Linked DNA regions of Homo sapiens: region 2 is linked to region 1. The links are contacts of gene promoters, found by promoter capture Hi-C in blood cells and fetal thymus (Javierre and others, 2016). All regions are on one chromosome and are shown on one strand. The core of a region is centred on a gene start or on the middle of the fragment in contact, and the rest is flanking DNA. Distances in the headings are between cores, read along the strand shown.

Region 1 (7,735 bases), core at 5,236-7,735:
ATGTTGGCCAGGCTGGGCACGAACTCCTGACCTCAAGTGATCTGCCCGCCTTGGCCTCCAAAAGTGCTGGGATTACAGGCGTAAGCCACCGCACCCAGCCTCAATCCGCTAACCTCTTAAAGTTGGGAGACCCCTGGGCTCAGTCCCTAGACCTCTTCTATTCTCTAGCTACACTCAGCCTGGTGCCATCCAATCTTATCACCACAACACATGGCACTGATGACTATCTCATGTCCGTCTCAGCCCCGACCTCTCCCTGGACTCACAACTCAAATCACTGCTGCCATGCAGCAGAATCACCTGGTTGCCCCACATGCTTTGTCTCAATCTGAAGCATCCAAAACTGAGCTCCTGGCCTTCCTCCCCAAGACTCTTACTCCTGCATCTGTTCCCATCTCAGCCAATAAAAGGCCATCCTTCTAGGGTTTTGGGTAGGCCGTGGAATGTCAGTATTGGCCCCTCCATCACACACCGTCAGTCCAATCTGTAACCGCCCAAGGGGTTCACCTTGCCTGCTGCCTGGACAGAGCCCATTCATCAAGACAGGGGAATTGCAATAGATTAATTCACGCAGAGCCAGCTGTGCAGGAGAGTGGAGTTTTATTATTACTCAAATCAGTCTCCCCAAGCATTCATGGAGCAGAGTTGTTGTTGTTTTTATTTATTTATTTATTTATTTATTTATTTATTTATTTCTATTATACTTTAAGTTCTAGGGTACAGGTGCACAACGTGCAGGTTTGTTACATATGTATACATGTGCCACATTGGTGTGCTGCGGAGCAGAGTTCTTAAGGACAACTTGGCGGTACGGGGAAGCCAGTGAGGCAGGAGTGCTGATTGGCCAGGGATGAAATCACAGAGGGTTGGAGCTGTCTTCTTGCGGTGAGTCAGTTCCTGGATGGGGGCCACAAGATCAGATGAGCCAGTTTATTGATCTGGGTGGTGCCAGCTGATCCGTCAAGTGCAAGGTCTGCAAAATATCTTAGGCGCTGATCTTAGGAGCAGTTGAGAGAGGGTCAGAATCTTGTAGCCTCCAGCTGCATGACTCCTAAACCATAATTTCTAACCCTGTGGCTAATGTTAGTCCTACAAAGGCCATCTAGTCCCCAGGCAAGAAGGAGTTCTGCTTGGGGAAAGGGCTGTTAACATCTTTGTTTAAACTATAAACTAAATTCCTCTCAAAGACAGTTCAGCCGACACCCAGGAATGAACAAGGATGGCTTGAGATTAGAAGCAAGATGGAGTTGATTCAGTTAGAGCTCTTCCGCTATCTCAGCCATAATTTTGCAAAGGTGGTTTCGAATAATCCACCTGGAAATTCTCTGGCCCTACCTCAAAAGTGCATCCAGAGTCTCACCCCTTCTCACTGCCTCTCTCTGACCTCGGACTGCTTCCTTTCCTCCCCACCTCCAGGCCGGCTCCCTTTGCCTCATGGCCTCTGCTCTCCTGTTCTCATGTCAGCGGCTCCTGACCAGGCCTTTGGTTTATTACCTCCTTCAAGTCTGATTAGAGCGCCTGGCGGGGTGGCTGACGCCTGTAATCCCAGCACTTTGGGAGGCCAAGGTGGGCGGATCACCTGAGGTCAGGAGTTCAAGATCAGCCTGGCCAACATGGCAAAACCCCATCTCTACTTAAAATACAAAAATTAGCCAGGCGTGGTGGTGGGCAACTGTAATCCCAGCTACTCCGGATGCTGAGGCTGGAAAACCGATTGAACCTGGGAGGGAGAGGTTGCAGTGAGTGGAGATCACGCCACTGCACTCCAGCCAGGGCAACAGAATGAAATTCCACCTCAAAAAAAAAAGGTCGATTAGAAGAGGCTTCTCTTCCCGCAGGGCCCTCCCCTGCCCCTCTCTGTGCCCTGCAGCAGCCTCCTCTTTGGTACGTTCCACTCCCCAAGCCCTGCGTGGGCGTCCCACCCACCCCCCAGCTTCATTTTAATCTCTGCCCCTCCACACACCTCCCCACCCCCACCCCTGTCTATATATGAACGGCACTGGGTGGGAATTTCCCTATTGTTTTCTCGATTTCCTAGAGCAGCGTCTACTCGTGGTAGGTGCCCGACACTCACATGTTGAGTGAATGAGCAGATTCTCAAGGCTCCCAAGGGACTGACCCATCCAGGCAGACCCTTTCCAGTCTGGGATTCAGCACTCCCCATGGAGAGGCAGGGTTGGGCTGACAGCCTCCAGCCCTTGCTTGCCCCTGTTAGGTGTCAGCATGCAGCGGGCACCCAGCAGGTCCGACTCCCTTCTCTGCCCCTTTCCTCTCGGGCACTTTGCCATCCTCTGATTCCCTGACTCTCCACACAGCCAGGAGGGAGCCGGAGAAGCCACGACCCCCGTCCTGTGGCTGGCTTCCCAGAGAGAAGCTTGGGGCCCCTCCGTGGTGGGAAGCTCAGTGGGCTGCGATGGCAAAGGCTGAGATGGAGCCTGGGCCTGGCCCCCACCTCCTGCCTCCTCTCCCCAGGTGGGCCGAGCACCCCACAGATGGAGCCCATGTCCCTGCATGCGGTCAGCCGAAGGGTGTGAAAGGTGAAAAAGGGCCCTGTCCCCTGCACTCTGCCAGAGGCGGGGCCTGGACACGCTGCAGCACCCACTGGCCCAGGAGCCCTGAAGGCAGCCCTGGTGGGAAGAGGGTCTCCTGAATCGGCCTGGCAGGTGCAGGAGTCTGGGGAATCTGAGCCAGACAAGGAGGCCAGGGGTCGCTTCTGTACCCTCAGCTCCTAGCAGGGGCAGGCAAGGGCTCCAGAGACCGTTAGCCCAACCTCAACTCTCCAGGGACAGAGGTGAGGCCCAGATTGAGAGGGTCTGCCCGGGTGAGCCAGAGGCAAGGGGATTAGAAGCCACTCCCTTGACCTTCACCCAATATGCCAGCAGGGTCCCACCCTGCCTGGTGGGTCAGTCCCTCGGGGACCCTGAACACCCAGGCATTCATCCCACACATAATTACTGGGCACCTACCACGTGCCGGGCTCTGCTCCAGGAGCTGGGAAGCTGAGCGGGCCCAGGCAGAATGCCCCCTCTGTAATAAACAGAATAACAGATGGTATCTGCGGTGGGGTGGGGCCTCTTCACCCTTGGGGCCCCGAGAGGGTCCTTGCTCAACAGTGCCCCGTTGTCTCAGGGGATGGTCCAAGGCTCTTAGCCTGGCTAGCACCGGCCCACACACCCCACAGCTCGCTGCCACGTTGTGCTTCTGGCCCCACTGGCCATCCGCACTACCCACTGGCTCGCAGCCTCACCGGCTCACCGGGACCTCTGGGTGGAGTGTCGGCCACGCTCTGTGGGCATGCGTCCTCACAGGTGCGTATCTCAGTATCCTGGACACCAAATGCTTCGTCCACCACTGGACCTGGGGACCGAGCAGGGTGGCTCAGGGGACACTAGCTGGGACCATCTTTCACCCCTTGCTGGAGTCCAGTCCCCCAGGGTCGGCTGACATCTCCAAGATCCCAGCCCACTGGAAAGCACGTGATAACCCCAGGTGCCAGGTCCAGGCTGGCCGTGGGCCCCCAACAGCTGGGCGGATTCTGAGGGCAAGGTGTGGACCCCCAGCAGCTGGGCAGATTCTGAGGGCAAGGGTGTCTGTCTGCTCGGGCTTCTGTGTTCAGGCTTAGAACCCCCTCAGATGAAGGGCTCTAAATGGGCGGGAAGGTGGGGCTGAGGGGGCAGCCACTCATTTGTGGCCATCAGGCAGATCCAGCTTCGGGGAGGTTCCGCAAGGGCCAAGGTCCTGATATATTTGGTTACAGAAAAGGTGGGAATTCCAATCCCGCCCGCCGAGAACCACAGAACCTCACTGCCTCTGTAAAGCGGGGTTGGGCCCATCTACCTCGCAGGGAGCTGGGAGGAGAAAACGCACCCTGGGTGAGAGCATGGGGAAGCATCCTTCATTTGGGTCCAAGCTCAGATGCCACCTTCTTGGAGGGACCTTCCTGCGGAGGTCGCTGTTGAGCACATCCCCTGGCTCCATTTCCTGTGTGACTTGGACCTGCCTTAAATGATTTGTCCCAATATCCCTTTCCTACTTACAGCGACCGCACCTCCCGCCTGGCTGTGTGCTCCAGAGCATCTGGGGAATGACCGGGCCCTCCCCTCCAACAGGCCTAATTCAGTCCCCCATGCCAGGCAGGACCAGGGCACACGAGAATGGTGAAGTCCTGGGGCAACTGTCACCATGGCCTCTGCAGGCTCAGTGTCGGGAGACCCAGTTTCTGACCTGGATACACTGCTCACCTTTGAGGTCGGGGCCTAGAGGGACGGTGCCACGTTGGAGACAGGCCTCCAGGGACAGTGCCACGTTGAAGACGGGGTTCCAGGGACGGTGCCACGTTAGAGATGGGGTTCCAGGGACAGTGCCACGTTGAAGACGGGGTTCCAGGGACGGTGCCACGTTGGAGATGGGGTTCCAGGGATGGTGCCACATTGGAGATGGGCAAGTCTGGGCTAAGGGAGGAGGGCCCAGGGTGGCCAGGGCAGGGCCCAGTGAGGTGCTGCTCTGAGGAGGTGGAGAGTGGGCGCTTGGGCAGGGGACACTTGGAGAGTAAGGATGAGGTCCATCTGGGTACCCTGGGTATAGGGAGTGTTGTTGAAAAAAAGCCAAACACTATAAAATATTTGAAGATATTTATTCTGAGCAAATGTGAGGACTATGACCTGTGAAACCACCTCAGCAGGTCCTGAGAATATGTGAGCAAGGTGGCTGGGTAACAGCTTGGCTTTATACTTTTTTTTAAAATTTTCAGGTCTTTTCTGTAGAGACAGGGTCTCACCATGTTGCCCAGGCTGATCTCAAGCTCTTCAGCTCAAGCAATGCTCCCACCTTGGCCTCCGAGTATGCTGGGATTATAGGCAACAGTCACCATGCCCGGCCTGGTTTTACGGATTTTACAGAGACAGATGTTACAGGCCAAAACCATAAATCAACATATGTAAGATATACATTGGTTCAGCCTAGAAACAGGGTTGGCAGGGGCAGCTTCCAGGTCATAGGGGATTCAAAGATTTCCTGATTGGCAAGTGGTTGAAAGAGTTATGTTTTGCCTAAAGAGTTAAAGTGGGATTACTCACGCCTGTAATCCCAGCACTTTGGAAGGCTGAGGCAGGCAGATCACCTGAGGTCAGGAGTTCGAGACCAGCCTGGCCAACATGGTGAAACACCATCTCTACTAAAAATACAAAACATATATACACATATACATGTATATATATATACACATATACATGTATATATATACACATATACATGTATATATATACACATATACATGTATATATATACACATATACATGTATATATATACACATATACATGTATATATATACACATATATACACATATACATGTATATATACACATATATACACATATACATATATGTATATACATATATAGTGTATATATATACGTATATATATGTGTATATATACACTATATATGTGTGTGTGTGTATATATATATATACATACGTGTGTGTATATATACATATTAGCCAGGCGTGGTAGCACGCGCCTGTAATCCCAGCTACTTAGGAGGCTGAGGCAGGAGAATCGCTTGAACCCAGGAGGTAGAGGTTGCAGTGAGCCGAGATCATGCCACTGCACTCCAGCCTGGGCCACAGAGCGAGATTCTGTCTCAAAAAAAAAAAAAAAAAAAAAAGAGTTGACGTGAGTGGACAAAAGGTGCCCGACCTCCTAAGGGAAGGAGCTTCTCTAGAAAACGCGAATTTCGCCCCCTCAAGAGACAGCTGTGCAGTGCCATATCAAAACATGTGAAAGGAATGTATTTTAGGGTGGAATACTTTGCCTGCCTTCGGGCCTGCTGTCTGCCACGTGAGGCTGTGCCAGTGTGAGGCTGGAATTTGGGATCTGGAGGCTAGAGCCATCGGTGAGGCCTGAGTCTCTAAGCACAGCGCCCAGAGGGAGAGGGCGGAGCGGGTCCGACCCCCTTTGCGGCAGGGCCTGAGCTGGTTTTCCAGGTTTCTCTGGAAGCCCTGTAGAGGAGCGGAGGGTCCATTCGGTGGGCTGGGGACTTTGAATTTAACCTTGGTTTGCAAGAGGCTTCCAGAGAGGATGTCTGGGAGCGTCTCGGAGGGGGACGAGGGGGCGCCGGGAGGAGCAGGTGCAGGAGCCCACGGCGCAGCGCCCCGCGCAGGCCTGGACGCGGGGACGGCCGCGGCGGCCGGGACAGGGGTCACCCCGCGGGGCCCTCCAGGGTGGGCCGCCCCACGACCCCAGGCCAGGCCGAAACGGGAATCCTCCAGACCCCAGAAGCTGGGCCGGGCTGACCCCGCGGGCGCGAGCGGCGGGAACTGTAGGCGCGGCAGGCGCACCACCACCCCGCCCCCCGCCCGGGCGCTGTGCGCGTGCGCCGAGGTTGCCCCGCCCAGGCCAGGCCCCGCTCCGCCCCGCCCCGCGCACGCCGGCCGCGCCCACGTGACCGGTCCGGGTGCAAACACGCGGGTCAGCTGATCCGGCCCAACTGCGGCGTCATCCCGGCTATAAGCGCACGGCCTCGGCGACCCTCTCCGACCCGGCCGCCGCCGCCATGCAGCCCTCCAGCCTTCTGCCGCTCGCCCTCTGCCTGCTGGCTGCACCCGCCTCCGCGCTCGTCAGGTGAAGCCTCAGGGGCCGGGGCTCAGGGACGGGCAGGGGTCGCGGCGCCGAGGTCCCGGGGCCTGTGGTGACTTTCGCGCTCCCCTGTGGCCCCCACGAGCCCCTTGCGCCCCCCGCGCTGGAATGCACCTGTGCCGCCCTGCGCGGCCTCCTGCACGGACCACCCGCCTACGGGGCGCCGGGCTCCGGAGGTGCAGGGGACCCGGGGCAGAGGCGCCAGATGCCTCTCCCCCATATGCCACCCTGGGTTGTACCTTGAGGACTGCAGACTGACCGCAGCCTCCCTGGAGACGGGGCGGGGCGGGGGGAGGTAGTGCTCATTCGGGGCAGGTGGAATTGGGGTCTGTACTGAGCGCCCTTGTTGCTGGAGACCTAGGTCAGGCCTCAGAGCCCCCGAGTCTGGGCGAGTCCATTTCCTTAGGGACCCCTTTACCACCTGTGAACTGGGGGCTTTAAAAGTTTGCTCCAGCGGCTCTTATCACAGGCCCTGGGCTGGGAGACCCCTCGAGACCCTAGGAGTTCCCATGTCCCTGAGAGAGGAGGAGGCATGGGGAGTGGGTCGGCTCACCCACCCCGGGCCTGGGGTTGTGCTGTAGTGAGGCCCACACGCTCCTCAGGCCGATCCCCTGTGCCAGGTGAGGCCACCGATTGGGCCTGGATGGGATGGGGCCCGGCCATGCCTGACCAGCTGGGCAGAGGAGGGCCATGCTGCAGTCTGCTTTCTTGACCCCCTCCCCAGCCCTTGCAAGGCAGCCCGCATTCCCAGGAGGGGTATGCTGACCCATCCCATTGGGCACCTGCCCCACCCTTGCTCTGGGCCTTTGTGGGAGACCTGGGATCTGCGATGGGTCCACTGCCTTTTGGCAGGTGGGTGAGGTCAGAAGGCTGCAGGGGCTGGAGCTGGCTGGGCCAGCTGGGTAGGACTGAGCCTCACCAAAGGCTGTGGGGAATGGCCCGGGGGCGGGTAGCCCCAATTAAAGTCGTTGTGGGGGAGTAGCCACAAGCCTGAGCCTGCCTTGACCTTGCCAGCCTATCCACAGGCCTCCCCTCTCCAAGGAGGACAGACACAGCAGAGGGGAAACGATCCTGGGGCTTCTTGGAGGGAAGGGTAGCTG
Region 2 (7,735 bases), core at 272-2,771, 110 kb before region 1:
CAGACCCCAACTCTACCAGCGTGCGCCAGGGTGACTACAGCCCAGGCCTGCCTGCCACACACACCCCGTCCCAAAAGTGCCCACGCCAGCCGGACAGACCCCAACTCTACCAGCACGGGCTGGGGTGACTACAGCCCAGGCCTGCCCGCCACACACACCCCCCTCCCAAAGGTGCCCACGCCAGCCGGACAGACCCCCAAGTCTACCCAGACACCCAACAGGAGGGGTGCCCGTGCAGCGGCAGACAGCGCTGACCAAAGGGCATCTATGACCCTGGAAACCTCATGGTGTGGCCTCCGCAGAGCCGCAAGCCTTGGCCCCCTGCTGAGACTGGAAAATGGAGCCTGGTTTCCCCCAACCCCTCTACCCCTGGCTTCCCATTGGTCCTCAGAGGCTGGGTCAGGGACCGTCCTCAGAGCAGGGTCCAGAACCGGCTTGATGTCCTGCTGACCAGCCCATCACCTCCCTTGCGCTGGGTGCCCTACCTCTTTTGATGTGCTCTGTGGTCAGCCCTGTGCCGGCAGCACCCTTGTCCCGCTCTGCAGCTGTTTCACATCTCTGCCCCCATCTGCGGCGACCAGCCTGGGTCGGAGGTTAGGGCCCCGCCCTGCTCGTGGGTGGCCCTGCCTGCTGCATCCCGGCGGCGTGGCTGCGGCTCTGCCTGCCCCGTGCCTGCTCTTTCTTCCCCCCTCCTCCTGTTCTGCGTGCTGTGCATATGGCTTTCTGTCTTCCTCCGTGTCACTAACCACAACGCTGCCGAGCCCGTGCCACGAGCGAGGCGACCTGCGGGACCTTTCTGGGGCCCTCGCCTGCACTCCGCGATCAGCGTCCTCCGCCGCAGCTCTCACCCTCGCATGCGTCTACATGCAGCCCCACTCGGTGCCTGCTTCCCGCAGGAGGGGACCAAGGAGCCCTGATACCTACAGGTCCACCGACAGCCCGGCTGCGCCTCCCGCCTTTGCTCGACGGCCCTCGGGAGCGCTGCGGCGCCTGGGCCAGCTGGGACTGCCCTGGCAGAGCTCTTGCCGTGCTCACGAGGCAGGCTTTTGGCACGTTCTGGGACACGCAACCAGTCCCTGGCAACGGCTCGAGGCTCTGCCATCCTCTTTCCTTCCCAGCTAGCCATGCCCAGATGTACCTCACATCCCTGAAGTCTCTGCCCACAGATGCTGCCCGAAGCGCTCCCATCCTCCACGCAACCAGAGGCTTCATACATTATTCAGACGTGGTGCCCACCTGGGCGGGAGCCACAGCCGGCACCCAGAGAGAAGGACCAAGCCAGCCTGGCATTCAACCACCTGCTCCACTCCCACAGCACCGGGATCTTCCTACCGTAGCACCCAGCAGCCAGGCCCTCTTCCTGACACCCCCACACCATGTCTGCCTGTGGAGCTCTGGGGTGCCCGGCCTGGCCACCGGCCCCTCCCCGAAGCTTTCATGGCTGACCAGCCCCTCCCAGACTCATCATCCCTGGGGGTGCAGGGAAGACATGGCAGAGCAGAAAAGAGTCTGCCCCTGGGCCGGCACTTCTTTCCCAGGAGACTCCCCGGTGTATGTCCCCGGGTGCTGCGGGCACCCCCTGCCAAGCCCCAGGATGGGAGTAAGCTTTGGTGCCTCCCTGAGCCTCAGCTTTCCTGTTTGCAAAATGGGGTATGAAGGACCAGCTTCAGTGGGCCGTGGGAGACTCACATGGCCTTGGGATGTCCTCATGGCTGAGGTCAAGTGGACCGGCCTTGGTCCTCTGCACCAGAGGTCCAGACATCCCCGTTTAAAGAGGCACAGTGAGCACCAGTGCAGCCAGCGCCTCCGTCCTCACAATGGTCGCCAGGGGCGCAGTCCTATCATCCCCATTACAGATGCACAAACGGAGGCTCGGAGGTGCACCTCTCACGTCTCACGCAGGGGTCCCAGGGAGCTGATGACGTGGCTGGGGCTCCAACCCCTCAACCCCCAAGAACCGGGTGTGGGGAAGACCAGGCAGGGACAGAGGCCAGAAGAGGTGCTGCTCCTGAATGTGAGTGGAGGGTCCTGACCCAGGGGGTCCCAGTCCGGGTGCAGAAATTCATTTCTCAGTCTCGGGGAAAACCAGCCCCCCCCACGCCCCCTCCTCTGTGGGGCGCCCCATTTTCCTCGCCCGCCCTCTCCTTGGCAAGCTCGCCAGCCCTCGCCTGGCCTCACTGCGTTCCTCCAGCATCCATTTCTCGCTTCTTTGATCTTCCTCCTACCGCCCGTCTTTGGAGCACCAAGAAGCTGTGTGAGACAGCGGCTCTGAGCCTTCTGCCCCGGCACCTGCTAGGTGCGGCCCACGTGGGAGAGACCCCTCCTCCCACACCTGGGGTCGGCGGCAAGGGGCAGTGCCCGGGACCCTCACACAGCTTCCATTCGCACCTCAGCCCCTCCCTCTGCCCTTCCCATCCTGCCACCACCCTGCACCCGCTTCTGCTCCCCCTCCCTCCTCCTTCAAGGCAGCCCCTGCTCTCCCTCCCTCTCAGCATTTTTCCCTCCCTTTCTCTCATTTCTTTCTCGTGCCTTCGCTTTCTTTCTTTCTTTTCTCTGTCACTTCTCCCCAGGTAGGGTTTGTTCTCGTCAAGAGACCCTCACAGCCCCAGGCACAGGGTTGCCCCCCTCCCAGCATCCCTGGCCAGGCCCGGCCCTCAATCTCACCTCCGCAAGCACCACCTCAGCTCGCACCAATACCTCCCCAACCCGTCATGGGTAGCAGCCGACCCTCAAGCCTCCCGGGTCTCAGCCCACTTGGAGCCTGGGGCAGGGGCCAAGCCCCTCACCCTTCTCCCTAATGGTCCCCGCCCCATCCAGGGGTCACCCAAGGGCTTCTCTCCCACAAGCTCCCACTTGCAGTGGCTCCTGTCTGCCCTCCAGAGACCTCTGTGGTTAACCCCAGTCCACCGACCTCTGCCAAGCCGCTCTGAGCCGGATGCTCAGTCCCCGGGGCCATGCTCCCTCTGGCCTCAGGGTGCCTCCCCTTTACGGTTCCAGCAGGGGCATCTGGGGGTCGAGTGCCCAGGGCACCCTGGCTGCCGCTTGCTGGCCGCTCTGCCCAGCTCTGGTTCGCCGGCTGGGACTGAAGCCTGAACCGCCGTCCTCTGGGCTCTGGCCCTGACACCCTGCCCAGGGGGCTGGGCCACTCGGTCCCTGCACCCCTGCTGCTGGCTCGCCTGGGCTTCTGGGCAGGACGGGCTCTGTCCGAAGACCGACTTCCAGCCCTGCCAGGGCGGGGGCTACCCCACCCTCAGGATCTCAGGCCTGGATGGGCCCAAGGCAGCCACACCCTTTTGGACACTGTGGTTGGAGGCCTGGCTTCCCCCAGCCCCCTCAGGGCCAGCCCAGCAGGCTGCCAGCCCATTCCTGCCCCACTGGCCACATCAGGAGCCCCAGAGGTCCCTGGACCAGGCTGCTCAGGGTGGGTCCCTGCCTGAGGGGCCTTAGAGCCCTGCGGAGAGCCAAGCACGGTGTGGCTGCCACATCTGTATATGTGTGGGCAGATGTGTGCCCGAGATGGAGGGAATGGAGGGGCTCACACCGCCCAAAGAGCCATGGCTAAGGGTGGGCACGGGGCTCCGGGGACCTCAATGCTTGATAAGAACGTCTGCCAGGCTGATCCCCAGCCCCCCTCTTCACTCCGGGCCAGGCTACAAGGCACTCTCAGCCGGCCTGGTGCCCTCTCACAAAGCCAGGACCCCACAGGTAGCAGGGCCAGGCCGCTGGCTGAGTCCGGGTGACGTCTGGAGTTGAGTGGGCTGAAGTCCTCTTGAGGTCCCCTGACCATCCCTAACACTTGCCTTGCCCGAGCTGGCCCTGGGAGAGCCCCGAGTTGCCCAGGGGCAGGCAGGAGGCACAGGGCAGACTCCCAGGTGCCTGGAAGGGCAGACTTGGCAGGGAGGCATTGGGGGTAGGTCAGCCCAGGGCCTGACCCTGCCAGCCAGAAGCCGCATTCTGGCAGGGGCTGGGTACAGCCAGACCTGGAGAAAATGGTGTTATGGGACTACATGCAGAGCCCCTGGGCTTGCACTGGGTGTAGACAAGGAGAATCGCTGGGGCAGGGGTGGGGGGCGACGGGGCAGGGGGGACACGTTTTCCCACTGGCCCAGAGCACCATTTTTAATGGATGTAAACTGCATTGAATTTATTCCCTGGCAGCTGCGGGCACCTAGCATGGCCCTTCAGGGTTCATCACTGAGGACACAGCACTTTGCCTGCAATGCCTCTCCCAGCCCTGCACCTGACATGGCAGGACACCCAAGGGGTCCCCGGGAAAGGGGTGGGGTGATGCGGGTGGAGGAGGGACCCAGGGACCCGGGCTCATCATGCCCGGCTGAGTGGCCTTGAAGTCTCTTCACCCACAGCTTCTCTGAGCCTGGCTCACTCCTTTATCCAACAGGGAGTGGGTAGGGGGCAGTCTGCCTGGCCTGCAGGGCTGGGACTGGGGAAGTCCGAGCTGTTGGAGGCTGCAGAGAAGAGATCATGGCAGTGGTGGTGAGCGCAGTACTGTCCCGGGTGGTCGTGTGTGTGTGCATGTGTGTGTGTGGGTGTGGTGGGTGGGTGGGGTGCAGCGGCCTCTGGGTCTGTGTCCTGGAGGGGGTGTGTATTAGTGCACACGTGTCAGCCTTGCTTCATGTAGCTCACCTTGGTGGCTCCCCTTAGCTGGACAAGGGACTCTTGCTGCCCTCTGCCCAGCCCCCATCAGGACAAGTTCCAAGGGAGTTCAAAGGGACGGGTCCTTATGCCACCAACCCACTGGCTGACCACCGCAAGTGAGGTCCCCTCCTCACTGTCTCCTCCCCAGGTCCACAGGGACTGGCCCCGAGCCTGAGCCCACGCGGCTTCAGTGCCTCCTCCCCAGGTCCACAGGGACTGGCCCTGAGCCTGGGCCCACGCGGCTTCAGTGTCTCCTCCCCAGGTCCACAGGGACTGGCCCCGAGCCTGGGCCCACACGGTTTCAGTGCCTCCTGAGTGCGGCTTGCTCACCTGGGGCTGCAGTTGGTGCTGGGCCCGCTGGACGGATGCTCATGGCCGAGCCCCTGGTGACAAGGGGGTGAGCCACCGCACAGCCAGGCAGGGGCTCTGCCCCTCCTCCGGGGGCTGCACTTCCTTCTCTTGGGCCCATTTGTTAAGTAGCACTGGTGAGCCTGGGGGATTGACCCCAGGCACTCCTCAAATCCCAGGCCACAGAGCTCCTGGTGGACAGCAGCGTCCCCTGGGAAAACACATTCCCGTTGGGCAGGGAGGGAGGTCTGACCAGCAGAGCCTGGAAGCCCAGGAGGAGGAGGCTTATGGGGGGCCAGGGGTAGGGGGAGGCTGGGATGAGGTGTGCCCAGCCAGGGGCCCACTGCAGATCCTGGTGCTGGTCCTGAACTCAGGTGACAGCCGGAGACCCTGCCAGGTGGGGACCAGATCGGAGCCATCTCTCTGCATCTGCACGGACCCAACAAGTGGGAGCTGGGGAGGAGGGGTGAGCCGGGCTGCCCTCAACTCCTCAGACCCCACTTAGCTCACCCCCATGGGCATCCCTGGCTCTCTGGCCTCTCAGAGTCTCAGCACTGAGTGCCTGGCCTGGGTGGGCAGTGGCAAGCCGACCGATGCCAGCCCTGCCTTCCAGTAGCTCGAGGTCCGGCCAGCATGCTCCATGCCATCAAAGGAAGTCAGAGCAGGACAGCCCTCCAGGTTAGGAAGAAGCAAGGCAGCCTTCAAGCAGGAGGTGGTGTTTCAGTTTGGCTTAAAAGCCTGGAAGGGTTGAGGAGGAGAAAGGGCACTACAGGCGGCTCAGAGTGGCTGACGGTGCAGAGGGATATCTCTGAGACTGCCCAGGCTGGGTCTTGAGGAGCCTTGGGCCCTCCAAACTCTGCTCTCCCACCTGACCCCATGAAGGGCCACACCACTACTTTACAGAGGAAGAAACAGGCTGGGAGAGGGCACCACACTGGCCCAACACCTGCAGGTGGACAAGGCCCGGGCACCTTCCCTGGCCCTGAGGAGCCTCCCACTCAGGGTTGGTGGCTGCAGCCAGGGCCGGTAAGCTCAGCCCAAAGTTCAGTTTCATGATCTGTGAAGTGAGGGTGACTGAAGGGTGCCCAGGATCCGAAGGACCCCACGGGAGGCCCCAGAAGCCACCCAGAGGATGGGCCCTTCATTTTGGGGGCTCAGAGTCAAGCAGAATCCCTGGGGCTCGGGGAGAGGTGTGAGCAGGTGACAGTGCAGCCGGCGGTGCAGGTGGGACGGCGTGAGCGGGTGACAGTGCAGTCGGTGGTGCAGGTGGGATGGTGTGAATGGGTGACAGTGCAGCCGGCGGTGCAGGTGGGACGGTGTGAGCGGGTGACAGTGCAGCCGGCGGTGCGGGTGGGACGGTGTGAGCAGGCGACAGCGCAGCCGGCAGTGCAGGTGGGATGGGGAAGGAGAATGCATGGGCAGCTGCCAGGAGCCAGGAGGAAGAGAGGCCTCAAGCAGCCTCCGCACTCACACATGTACACGCAACCAGCCTGGCACCCTCTCGCTGCCCACGCTTGGGGCAGCAGAGCCTACCGAAGCTGGGGGGAGGCCCAGTGGCCCGGTGCATGTGGCAGCCCAGCATGGGCACCCTGCCCTGCCCTCCATGCCCAGCCAGGGCAGGAGGGACCTACCTCAAGAGGTATCCAGGCCCTGTCTGCTAGAGTTCCTCCTCAGAAGCCCGGGACTGCCCAGGCTGCAGCCTCTGCTCAGGCGGCGACCTGGCCTGACCCCAGCCCCGGGGATAGAGCAGCATCTCAAAGGCTCCTGTCCTGCTGGCCCTCCTCTCTGCTGCCCTCCTCCCGCACCCCTGCCCCCCTGTGCCCAGCTCTCCTTGGCTTTCCTGCCTCTCCTGGCCCCTCTCACTCCTGCACTTCCTTGGCGCTCTGCCCTGGCCCTCGGTCTCTCGCTGGCTGTCACCCCTCCCCTGTCCCTTCTCTCTGTCTGGTGTTCTCCTTGTCCCTGTGACCCTCTGCCTGCCTGTCTTGGCCCCTCTGGCCCCTGGCACAGGAGTCTGTGGGCCGGCTCCCTTGGGCAGCCTGGTCCCTCCCTCTGGCACCTGGCACAGGGGTCTGTGGGCAGCCTGGTCCCTCCCTTCGGCTCCTGGCACGAGGGTCTGCAGGCCGGCTCCCTGCAGGCAGCCTGGTCCCTGTGTCCCCATCCCTGTGGGTCTCCCTGACTGTGGGTCTCCCTTTCCCCTCTCCTACTTCAGGACTCTCAGCAGCTGCTTCTCTTTTGTTTCCCCCAGCCCCCTTCTCCTCCCGCCTCCATCTCTTCCACCTCCACCTCCTCCTCCTTCCGAGAAGAGTAAAAATGTCAGAGCGAAAACTCTCCCAGCCCAGCAGCGTGGGGCTCAGCCAGACCTCTGTGGCGCGCTGATGGGCAGCGTGGCTGCCTCCTTCCCTCCCTCCCTCCCTTCCTCTTTCCCTTCCTCCCTCCGCCTCTGCCCTCAGGCCACCTTGGTAGCCGCTGCCCGCTTCTCGGTCTCCCCTAGCCCTCTGTGGTGCCCCTGCCCCAGGCACAGGGGCCTATTCTGCCCATCGCCGCCTCCCACCTCGGAGTGCCTCATGCCCTCTGCCAGGCCCTGCCCGGGCCCTCCTCTGTTCTTCTCCTTCGTCGGCCGTTCTTGTCCAGCCCCTCGTCAACCTGCCACCTCCCTCACCATCATCGCAGGCCTGGACCCTTCGCTGGTTCCTCTTTGTCCCGTCCCCTCCTTCCCCGTCTCGCACTCAGC

Evidence for each region. The method cuts DNA at HindIII sites, captures the fragments that hold promoters and counts their contacts. A CHiCAGO score of 5 or more calls a contact.
Region 2: a contact is called between a fragment that was not itself captured here and the fragment with the promoter of CTSD in region 1, in 1 of 17 cell types (monocytes). The highest score is 7.8, in monocytes.

Annotation. Positions count from the first base shown.
Region 1 is chr11:1,762,677-1,770,411 of GRCh38, reverse strand. CTSD (cathepsin D) reads left to right here and starts at 6,485. Exons shown (of 9, transcript NM_001909.5): 1 at 6,485-6,620. The coding sequence starts at 6,553. RefSeq lists silencers at 6,106-6,575, 6,826-6,915. The HindIII fragment of the contact is 14,818 bases long and covers 2,377-7,735 here.
Region 2 is chr11:1,864,163-1,871,897 of GRCh38, reverse strand. All of the region lies in intron 1 of LSP1 (lymphocyte specific protein 1), which reads right to left. Among named protein-coding and RNA genes, the nearest start is that of MIR4298, 8.5 kb to the right of the region's middle. RefSeq lists enhancers at 221-758, 759-1,297. The HindIII fragment of the contact is 173 bases long and covers 1,435-1,607 here.